Linked DNA regions of Homo sapiens: region 1 is linked to region 2. Evidence: promoter capture Hi-C in 16 types of primary human blood cells and fetal thymus (Javierre and others, 2016). All regions are on one chromosome and are shown on one strand. The core of a region is centred on a gene start or on the middle of the fragment in contact, and the rest is flanking DNA. Distances in the headings are between cores, read along the strand shown. Region 1 holds the start of HOXD11 (homeobox D11). Region 2 overlaps LINC01116 (long intergenic non-protein coding RNA 1116).

What was found. The method cuts DNA at HindIII sites, captures the fragments that hold promoters and counts their contacts. A CHiCAGO score of 5 or more calls a contact.
Region 1: a contact is called between the fragment with the promoter of HOXD11 here and a fragment that was not itself captured in region 2, in 1 of 17 cell types (fetal thymus). The highest score is 5.2, in fetal thymus.

What each region holds. Positions count from the first base shown.
Region 1 is chr2:176,102,997-176,108,783 of GRCh38, forward strand. HOXD11 (homeobox D11) reads left to right here and starts at 4,284. Exons shown (of 2, transcript NM_021192.3): 1 at 4,284-5,140. The coding sequence starts at 4,360. RefSeq lists an enhancer at 1,154-2,140. The HindIII fragment of the contact is 7,005 bases long and covers 1,323-5,787 here.
Region 2 is chr2:176,613,650-176,618,991 of GRCh38, forward strand. It overlaps LINC01116 (long intergenic non-protein coding RNA 1116), which reads right to left. Exons shown (of 5, transcript NR_188023.1): 5 at 1-131. Among named protein-coding and RNA genes, the nearest start is that of MIR1246, 15 kb to the left of the region's middle. The HindIII fragment of the contact is 2,714 bases long and covers 2,719-5,342 here.

The DNA.
Region 1 (5,787 bases), core at 3,034-5,533, 510 kb before region 2:
AGCTTAGTCCAGGAAATTCAGGGCCTGCTTGCTACTCATTTTCTTGCAAAAACAAGCTCCTAGCTGGTGGAGGTGGAAACTAGCTTTTAGCTAGAGGAAGAATTAGCAAAACCACTAAATCACTAACACTGAATATTCAACATTTCAACTCCCTTTCCCAGAAGCAAATTTGGTGTATAATTGAAATTTTTAATTGTTCTTTAATTGTATACACACACACAACTATATATACCTATATGTATATATATTCAATAGGAGAGAAAGAAGCAAGAGCTGCCAAGGCCCTATGGCTCAAAAGGATTCTCCACCTGGCTGGGCACATAGAGGCGATGGTACCCAGAGCAGGATCTCCAAGTCTGAGTCTGCATTCAGAGGTTTGCCTCCTCAAAAACAACTGAACAAAGGCTGAAGCCGCACTGAGCGCTCGGAAGGCTGGGGAAAGGAGGAGGAAAGCATATGAACTCAGATCCAGGCCTTAAGACAGAAAACACGGAGGCCGTTTCTTTCCAAAATATATCATTAAATCATCGTGTTCTTTCCCTTTAGCCTGGGATGAGTGGGGGGAGGGGATATTCATGGAGATCACTCCTCAAAGAAAATTAAATTATTCTAAATATAAAAGCGTATCTCTTGGTTCAGCAGTCTTTTCCAAATCTATCCCGTTTGCTATTTCACACAAATACAAAGACTCTGGTGTCTCCTTCCATAGCCCGGGTTCCCGCAGAGATTTGGAACCACTAGGAAATTTGTTAAAAAAAAAAAAAAAAAAAAAAAGCCGAAGAGAAAGGACGCTAAAATCTGAGTGCTCAACATTCCCTTCAGAAAGACAAATGTGTCCTCTGAAATGCTGCAGTCCAAGCGGGCCTCTTGACCAAGAAAACAGTTTTAAAACGAGAAAAAAACAGCTTCATCTGGCATTCAATCAGTTGGGAACTCAGAGGGCGGCGGGGAAGGGGGGACGCTTTTAAGGCCTGGGGGTTCTCCCCCAGGGAGGCGGGCTGAGGAGGCTTCCGGGATGCCGGCGGGTGGAAGAGAAATCTGGAACCGTTGTAAATATTCATGTGGGGGGATGCCCCTTCACCCTTCACCCGCCTCTCCCAGCTGCATTCCCCCCTCAGTGATAGTGGGGGAGGGCAAGGCGACTGCCCCACTGTCCTTAGACAAAGGTGATCTCCCCATATTTTTGTTCTCCAGTCGCTTGACTTAAGAAGTCCATTCCGAAGGCTCTGTAGGGAAGGAACTGGCTCTGGGTGTTTTCCCTGCATTTCTCTTCTTTCGTTTCTTAAAAGAGCATAAATAATTAAAGTTTGGCAGGGAGGAAAAGCTTTCTTGCAGAACTGTAGTGGCAATAAATGAAATGACTCAGAATCCCTTCCCCAGTCAGCTTTTACGAGAGCTGCCAGACAGTGTCTGTTCACGTTCTCCAGATACCAGGGGCGCCCTGACAAAGTTAAGGTCAAGTTAGTGTCTTATCTTGGGTGACTCAAAATCACCGCATCGCGTCCTGGCGCTGTGCGGAAAGCTCTTTCTCGCGGAGCGGCTGGCTGCGCCCCGAAGGCCTGGTGCGCTCCCTGCGTTTCGGGTGGGGCCGCGCAGGCAAGGACAAGGCCACAGAGTCGGGGTCTTCACGGTAGGTTCTCGAGCGGGACGCGCGGGTCCGGAGGCTGCGGTTTTCCCTGGGTTTGGGGAATGGGGGTAGGAACTAGGAGGGAGCTGGGGCCAAAGAGCCAAGCGGGCTGGGACTGGAATGAAAGCGCTCTGGGTTGTGGAGTGGGTCGGGGGGCAAGGGTCCGCGCTAAGGAGCCGAAAGGGGCCGGCCGCCCCCTTCCCCTATGCACCGGCGCGCCACTGCAGATGGCTCACCCTCCCCCGCCAAATCGCTGCTCCCGCCGGAGCTGCCGTCGCCATGTCGTTGAACTTGAATGGTTCGTCCTCCCCTTTTCCCTCTTCGGCGGTCAGCAGGCTCCATACTGGGGGCGCCGGGCTGCCTGCACCCCACCCCGTGCCGCCAGTAGAGAGAAGGTGCGAGAATTTTGCGAATCCCCAGACACATAAAGACCCGGGTTGAAGTCCTCGCAGCTGCCCTGGGTCCTGAGCTACCGCAGGGCCAGTGTGCAGCGTCCAGGGAGCCATTTTAGGAGAGAGATCCAGGGGCGTCGACCACGAGCCCGAAAGGGAGAGGCTTGGGCCTGGGATGGAGATGGGGAGGCAGATAAGTGTGCTGGGGGTCTGGGTTGAGGAGAAGAATGTCAGCTGGAATCTGGGCGGGGGTGCCAGCTGCGGGGAGGGAGCACACAAGATGGGCAGTTCTAGTTGGGGGAGGCTCGATGCCCTCCAGTCGCCACAGACCTATTTGCGCAGTGTTGGGGGAGGGAAGAAGACATGGGAAGGGGCGGAGGAAGGAGAGAGGAAGGGAGAAAGGGAGGGAGGAGAAAAAGAGGAAGGGGGGGTACATCAGCCAGAAAATAGATATTAGCTCAGACCACCCGCCTTTTCTCTGTCTGTCCGCACGGTGGGCAGAGCGCACAGCACCGGCACTGCAGCAGCCCGGGCCAGGGAGGGAACCAGCATCACAGCCAGCGCCGCCTGCCCTGGGTATAGGACTGAGGCCCAGGCCCCAGCGCTGGGATTGCCTGGGCGGAGGAATCTTGGGGAAAGGGGCAGCCTCCTGCCCTCGGTTCTGGGATTTGGGTTTGGGAAGAGACGGTTTACCTTTGAAAAGCGTCTGCTCACTCGGAGGTGGGATCCCAGGCCTTGCCTGGACCCATGGGCTAGGAGAGGGTCGCGGCAGGCTGGGAGGAGAGTGAGGCCTTGGGGGAGTGGATGGGGTGCCCCACGAAGAGTCTGCCTCAGAGCCAGGTGACACAGAGGGGCTCCAGGAGGGAGTCAGGCTCCGCTGAGAGCCCTTAGAGAGACAACCTATCTTGGGGGAGGGGCTGAAGTGACCATGCAGACCCAAGGGTACCAGAAGAGCCTCGGGGAAACGCGGCGTGGATTCGCAGGCCTTGGCGGGGCTCCGAAGCAGTGAAGGGTCTAGGTATAAGGCGGACACCCAGGCTAGGCCTGAAAGCAGAGGGGTGAGGAGGACGAAGGTGCGAGTGTGTGGGGGTTGTCTCTTGTGGGGAGCCAGCGGGAAGCCAAGCACCCTAAGAGTAGGACTCCAGATCCTTTTGTTCACCAGACTCCCCAGATTCTAGGGAGGCTGGGGACCACGGGCTGAGCCCCCTCCTGGCTTCAGTGCTGAAGGAGAAGGCAGAGAGGCAACGGGGAGAGAGACAGAGACAGTGACACACAGCTTAGAGGAAAGGAGGGGAGAGGATGAGAGGACAGAGAGAGAGAGGAGAAGGGAGACAGGAAAGCAAGAGGAAGGAAGAAGGAAAGCGGAAAAGAAGAGGAAGGAGAGAAGTGAAGACAGGAGAGAGAAGGGAGAAGACTGAAGAGAAACGAGGCAAGGAGAAAGAGAGACAAGAACAGAGAGGGAAACCAGAGAGAAGGGAAGAGAGCCGGGTGGGCACGAAGGCCCCGGCCTGGGTGAGTGCCTAGGTGGTGAATGGCCTGGGTTTTTCCGAGGCCAGCACTCGCACCCTTGGGGTCAGAACCGGAAAGAGCCAAGTCACTCCACTCTGAACGCGCTGGGCAGAAAAATATGTAAATCAGGGCTCCCTGCGCCCTGGAGAGTGGCGAAATTACTCCCGCCCGGTGAACAAGAAGCAACAAGCTCCCAGGCGGGTGAGCTGCAGAGGGTGGCAGAGTCGCGGGGGAGGGAGCGGCTGCAGTAAGGGGGGTGGGGTTCGGAACCTCACACCCTCACACCTAGTTCCTAGCTTCTAGGGAGCCTGGAGCCGGGGCTTCCCCCCCTCTGCTCGCTGCTTCTCTCCCTTCCCCCTTCCTCCCCCTCTTCCCCCTCCTTCCTCCTCCCCGCCGGCCTCGGTCCGCGTACTTAAAGCGGCGCGGGAGGGCGGACGCGGGCGGGCGGCCCGTTCGGGCGGTGGCAGATGCGCCCAGCGGTGACAGCGGCCAGCGGCGCGCAGGTGACCGGCCTGAGGCGCAGCCTGGTCAGGGAGCGCCCGGGGAGAGCTGGCGGCAGAGGGCAGCCGATCCGCCCCCAGCGCGCGCGTCTCGGCGCCAGGAGCCGTCCCGGGGCGTGTTGGCGAGCGTTGATATAGATATAAGGACATTTCTCTTCATGGCGTCACGTGACATAATTACCACCAGAATCAATCAAGATGAATTGCACGTCAGCGCCCGGTGGGGATTTTTGCTTAGTTGATCCTGGCCCAAGCCTCTTGTGCAATCGATGGCTCAGGTTGGCTGCGCGGGGAGCGGCCAGAGGCTCGCTGGCGCGCACGCCGCGGAGTCATGAACGACTTTGACGAGTGCGGCCAGAGCGCAGCCAGCATGTACCTGCCGGGCTGCGCCTACTATGTGGCCCCGTCTGACTTCGCTAGCAAGCCTTCGTTCCTTTCCCAACCGTCGTCCTGCCAGATGACTTTCCCCTACTCTTCCAACCTGGCTCCGCACGTCCAGCCCGTGCGCGAAGTGGCCTTCCGCGACTACGGCCTGGAGCGCGCCAAGTGGCCGTACCGCGGCGGCGGCGGCGGCGGCAGCGCGGGGGGCGGCAGCAGCGGGGGCGGCCCCGGCGGGGGCGGCGGCGGCGCGGGGGGCTACGCTCCCTACTACGCGGCGGCGGCGGCGGCGGCTGCGGCGGCCGCGGCGGCCGAGGAGGCGGCCATGCAACGCGAGCTTCTCCCGCCCGCGGGCCGCCGGCCGGACGTGCTCTTCAAGGCGCCTGAGCCGGTGTGCGCTGCGCCGGGGCCGCCGCACGGCCCCGCGGGCGCCGCCTCCAACTTCTACAGCGCGGTGGGCCGCAATGGCATCTTGCCACAGGGCTTCGACCAGTTCTACGAGGCAGCGCCCGGGCCCCCGTTCGCCGGGCCGCAGCCCCCGCCGCCACCCGCGCCGCCACAGCCCGAGGGCGCAGCCGACAAGGGCGACCCCAGGACCGGGGCTGGTGGCGGCGGGGGCAGTCCCTGCACCAAGGCGACCCCTGGCTCGGAGCCCAAGGGGGCAGCAGAAGGCAGCGGTGGCGACGGCGAGGGCCCCCCGGGAGAGGCGGGGGCCGAGAAGAGCAGCAGCGCAGGTAGGCACCGGGTACTGGGCAAGCGGTGGGCCCGGGGGCCGCGGGGGAGGGGGGGGGGGCGGAGGCCTCCCTCTGCTTGCGCCTTTTTATGTGCTACTTTATAAGCATTCGAAGAGGTTTATACATCCTATAAGATTTCCTGGGCCGTTGTAAAGTGTGTTTATGGTAGGAAACCAATTTAGGTGGGCTTAAGGTAGACTTCGAGGAGGACATTAATAGCTGTCGAGAGCCTTTTCCCAGTTTTGGGCAGGGGGTTGCTAGATACCATGGAGGGAGGGAGGGAGGGAGATTTCAAGCCAGTGTGAGTGCATACACCGGAGCCTCCTGCTTTTAAGGGAGAGAGGCGGGGGGTGGGGAAGTGGGGGGAGTTTGATCCTTGCACTGGACTTTATCCAAGCCGCTAGCTGACGCGCGCCGCTGGAGTCAAGCAGATGCCCCGGCGGGCCTGCTCTTGTCTCTGTTCCCTCAGGTTCCAGTTTAGAGCCTGCCTTGCCCTCTGCTTCCCCACCTCCGTGCCAGGCTCTGTGTGTGTGTGTGTGTGTGTGTGTGTGTGTGTGTGTGTCCGGGCGTGAACACATGTCCACGCCCGCACTCTCTCCTGTGCCCGCCCATATATCATCCCCCACGACGCAGGCAGGGCCTTTCGG
Region 2 (5,342 bases), core at 2,826-5,325:
CTCTGACCAGCAATTTCTCTCGTGGCAGTAGTATGTCCATCCTTTGGAAGACCATGAAAAAAGTACAAATATTCCCCCTCTCCATAGCTTAATGTGAGAATGAGGGTGGAGGGTGGAAATGGACATGTTGGCTTTAAAAGCATAAAAGAAAATAAGTGAGTCACATTAAATGCATACACATTAATTCACCCACTCCTTCCTCCCTCCCTCCTCCCTCCCTTCCTTTATACCTTCCTTCCTCAATTCCATATGCATTTATTAAATACCTTACATGTCCTGCACTATATTGAATGTCACGAAAGTCCTAAAGGAATTTCAAGTTCTGACATGGAAAAGACAACTATAATGGAAACTTTGGGGAAGAGTGTCAGCTTTGGCAGTATATGTGTTAGGGTAACATTAGCTGCTATTAACAATAAACTTCAAAATACCAGCGACTTCACACAACAGAAGTTTCTCTCTCACTCAGATAACAATCCAAAGCAGATGTTCCTTATCTGTGGGAGGTTTTCCTCCATGTGGTGATAAAGGATTCAGCCTTCTCTCTTGAGGCTTGGCTTTTCCCTATGGCTTCAGAATCATTTCCAGTCCCCAGAGATACTGGAAAAGGCACAGCCACTTAGAAACTCTACTTCTGCTTATTTTCCATTGGCGAGAACTTGTCACATGACCCAGCTAGATGCAAAGGAGGCTTGGAAGTGCAGTCCCTGGCCAGGCACCTGTATTCCCCAGTATGGAAGGAGAAATGAAAAACTAAGGGACAGCCACAAGAAGAATAGAAATGAATTCTCTCTCTTCTCTTTTTTTAAACAATTAATGATAGTAGAACACTTGGTAGGAAAATACTGGTGGACCTACCGAGATAAGCTAGAAATAGAACAAGGAGATTTGAGAGTCTAAAGGCTGGCATATAAGCAGATCCAACCTCCTATTTTTCAGGCAAGAAAACATGATATTGTTTATGCTACTTCTCATTTTCAAATCCCCTATCACAGTGTGATTTGGCTCATTTTCTTTCCCTTTTTTTCTTGAAGCAATCATAAAAATTAAGTCTAAAACAAAAGTAATTCTTCAGATGGCAGGTTTGGCTGCCCTTTAAGATACCTAATTTACAAAGCTCCCTTTAATGGGTGCCATCTTACAGCCGGGGAAATGAGCCACTACCATGGAAGTCAGGTTTGTTAGCTTTTTTGCCTGAATCCCCTCCGTTTTTCTCCCAGCCTCAGCAAGCACAGTTTCTTTTCATCCTAATGTGGAGAGGGATAAAATGAAAGGAAATTTTTCCTTAATCCAATAGTGAAACTTTCCAGTTGTGAAGCACTTTGAAATACAAACTAATTAATAAACACAACTCTCTTCCAAAGCAGTAAGGATTGCCATTCTCATTTTTCACAGCTGAGAAAGCTGCAGTTAAAATAGTTTGCCCCAGGCTGCGTACCTTGTCTGTGGAAAAACTTTGAGGCACCAGCCCTGTATTCTCTCAGGATGGCATGTTGCCTCTCTAGAGAGTAATTGGCTTTCATACGGGTTGTAGCTAACAGTGACTTCCTCAATGACTCCACAGTGCCCCTGGCACCAGCTATGCAATTGCTAATGCTCTTGTCACAAACTGTGAGTGACCCACTAAAGAAAATAAAGAAAAAGTAATTCACTGGATGGCCCTCTCTCTCACAAACACTTCTGGAGATTGAAGAAATACTTTTGCAATCATAAGTCCTGTGCTAAACTGAGAATCAGACAAATGAAAAGTATTTGTTCATATCCTCATGGTACTAAGACCTTAGGGCCAAAATTATTACTGCCATTTCACAGGTGGAGAAACTAAGAACCAGAGATCATTGCTCCCAGTGGGAAGTCATTACAAGTCTCTCATCTCAATGCTATCATTTTGTCTTATCTCATTAAAAGAAATACGCTTGTATACAACAGCACTGCAGCTATTTCAGTAAGAAAAAAATGATCACAGGTGACATTATGTGTGAGAGTTTGCCTTGACCATGCCTTTTATGATGGAATAATTGGTTCTGAGTTGTATCATAGATGCATAATCACAAACAGGCCCCAGTGATGGTGGAATCTAGCCAATCTGGGAAGCCCAAAATGCTTTTACTATACCCACAGTTAAAACATTTGTATTTACAATACTGTGTCATAGCTTGCTTATGAAGTATAGGGCTTGTCATAAACACTATTGGCTGTCAAATATAAGAGAAATGCCTAGGACATAGATCTTTACAGAATCTTTGTTCTCCCTTCTTGAAGCATACACTGTTTATGTAAGTGAGGGATTAGTTATCATGAATAAATCCAGCCAGAATACTCTGGGTTCATTTTCATTGGTGACCATGGTGAGATTTAATGTTGATGTTATAAAACTGGACTCCTCAATATAAGAGCCACTAGCCACATGTGGCTATTGAGCTCTGCAATTTGCTGGTACAAATTGAAACATATACATGTAAAATACACACCAGATTTTGAAGACTTCATATAAAAACAAAATTGCAAAATAGCTCATTATTTTTATATTGATTCCACGTTGAAATGATAATATTTTGGAAATACTGGGTGAAATATAAGATTATTAAAATGAATTTCACCTTTTTTTTTGTAATGTTATTACGGAGCTACTAGAACATTTAAAATTCTATTCGTGAATCACATATTTCTACTGGAAAGTGCTATTACAGAATTCTCTCAAGAGCTTCCTAAATTGAAAGCTTATTCAATCATTCAGTCCCCCAGACCACCAGCAACAGCTTCCTGCCAAATGCACAGTGTATTAGGCCATTTGCGTTGCTATGAAAAAATACCTGATGCTGGGTAATTTATAAACGAAAGGGCTTTAATTGGCTCATGTTTCTGCAGGCTGTACAAGCATGGCACCAGCATCTGCTAGGCTTCTGGTGAAGGCCTCAGGAATCTTCCAATCATGGTAGAAGGAGAAGTGGAAGCAGGCACGTCACATGGTGAGAGCTAGAGCAAGAAAGAGAGACGGGGAGGTCCTAGACTTTTAAACAACCAGATGTCTCATGAATTAACTGGGTGGGAACTCACTTATCATCAAGGGGATGATGCAAAACCATTCATGAGGGATCCGCCTCCATGGTCCAGTCACCCCCAACACTGGCAATCAATATCAACATGAGATTTGGAGGGGACAAACATCCAAACTGTATCACACAGGAAGAGAATATTCAAGGAAGAGAATGTTTCCTGGCTTTAACATCTGTCTTAATTATTTTATTTTCTAATATTGGAAAAGACACTATAAAGTATTTTTCTTATATTTCTCCCTTGACTAATTCCTACATGTCCTTCAAGACAGCTCCACATCACCGCCACTTGGAAGCCATGCCTCACTACCACATCCCTCCATTCCTGGCTGTCTGGTGGCATGAAGCTGGCTGGGTTAGGTGCTCCTGTTCTGTGCTACTCTAGCCATATTATAATCTTGTCTCATTATAATCTACTTGTCTCTTAAACCCATTTCCTATAAATTCCTATGGTAAAAGTCTCTGTCTAAATTTCTCTTATGTAGCACAGTACCTGGAAACATTTCACAAACAATCATTTGTTGAATGATTGCTTAAATGAAGAACAAATAAATAAAAATAATTATTGGCTGGGCATGGTGACTTTTGCCTATAATCCCAGCAATTTGGGAGGCCAAGGTGGAAGGATCACTTAAGACCAGAAGTTCAAGACCAGCCTGTGCAACATAGAGAGAGTCCCTCTCTACAAAAAACAAACAAACAAACAAAAGTTAAAAGAATTAGCTGGGTATAGTGATGCATGCCTGTAGTCCCAGTTACTCTGGAGGCTGAGGCAGAAGGATGGCTTGAGCCCAGGAGTCTCAGGCTGCAGTGAGCTATGATCATGCCACTGCACTCCAGCCTGGTTGACAGAGCAAGCCTCTGTCTCTAAAAATAGTAATAATACTGCTTTAGTTGACATTGTTATTTCAGAATTATAAATTACAGTAGTTTACTTTTTTTTTTTTTTTTGAGACAGGGTCTCACTCTGTCATCCAGGCTGGAGTGCAGTGGCATGCTCACGGCTCACTGCAGCCTTGACCTCCAGGGCTCAGTTGATCCTCCCACCTCAGCCTCCCAGGTAGCTGGGACTACAGGTGTGTGCCACCATGCCCAGCTAATTTTTTGTATTTTTAGTTTTTGTAGAGATAGTGTTTCATCATGTTGCCCAGGTTGGTCTTCAACTCCTAGTCTCAAGTGATCTTCTCACCTTGGCCTCCCAAAGTGTTGGGGTTACAGGCTTGAGCCACTGTGCTTGGCCAGTAAGTTTGCATTTAATTGACACTATACAAAAGTTATGTTAGTTTATTCTCATAAATGTATTTGAAAGAAAATCCTTCATCATTTTATTAATCACAATTCTTTGTAATTACTCTCCCTCAACTCAGGAGTGCTGTGAAAATGATATTGATGACTAGAAATTGCTATGTGAAAAATATAAAGTAAAAATGTATTTGTATTTGTATATCACAAATCAACCAAACCGATGGTAGAGAGGTTAGTGGTGATACATATGAAGCATTTGCTGGGAATTGAGAAGGTGCCTATTATAAAATTAATGCGTTTGTGTCATATAATTTACTGACCAAACCCAGAGACTCTGAGAGTTAATGGTAGTGCTGTAATATTTATTCTGGGACAAAAAGCATAAATAGGACTGTCAGGAACAAATCAGGACATATGGGCACCTCGTTACATTAAATGAGAACCGTTTCTTATGCAGGTAACCCACAGTATAGAAGTAATGGATGGGCTGTCCTCACAGGTTTATAGGAAGAAAGGGACCCTCATCCTTAATGGAAGTCCCACGAGTTAGAACCAGCAGTTACAAGATTCTGTCTTTTCTACTGGCCACTCTGTCTCGGGTGGATGAAACCTTTCAGCAGTCCCCTTCCCGATGGAGCAACTGACGAGCCCTGTGAGTGGAAGCTCTATCACTTTGCCCATCAGCTCACAAACTCAGAAAACTGCTTGGATGGATCTGTTCTGTCGGGTGTGGGGAGAGTCCTTCCTTGATCAATGCTTAATGAGCCAACTCTGTCATCTTCCTTTCTGTGCCCTCCATCAGAGAGGTTGGAAAGAGGGAGGAGCTATAGAGCTGCAGCTTACTAAAGCCACTAGCCTCTGTCATTGTTCTGTTTGTTCCTCCTCGCCTTGGGAAAAAACTCAAAGCTATATCATCTTGATAAGAGCTTTCTATTAAAAACCAGTGCATACATTATTATTATCTCTTGAGAGATGAAGAAATGGAGGCTCAGAGACATTAAGAGATTTGCCCAGAGGGAGTATCATGGTGGAGACTTCCGA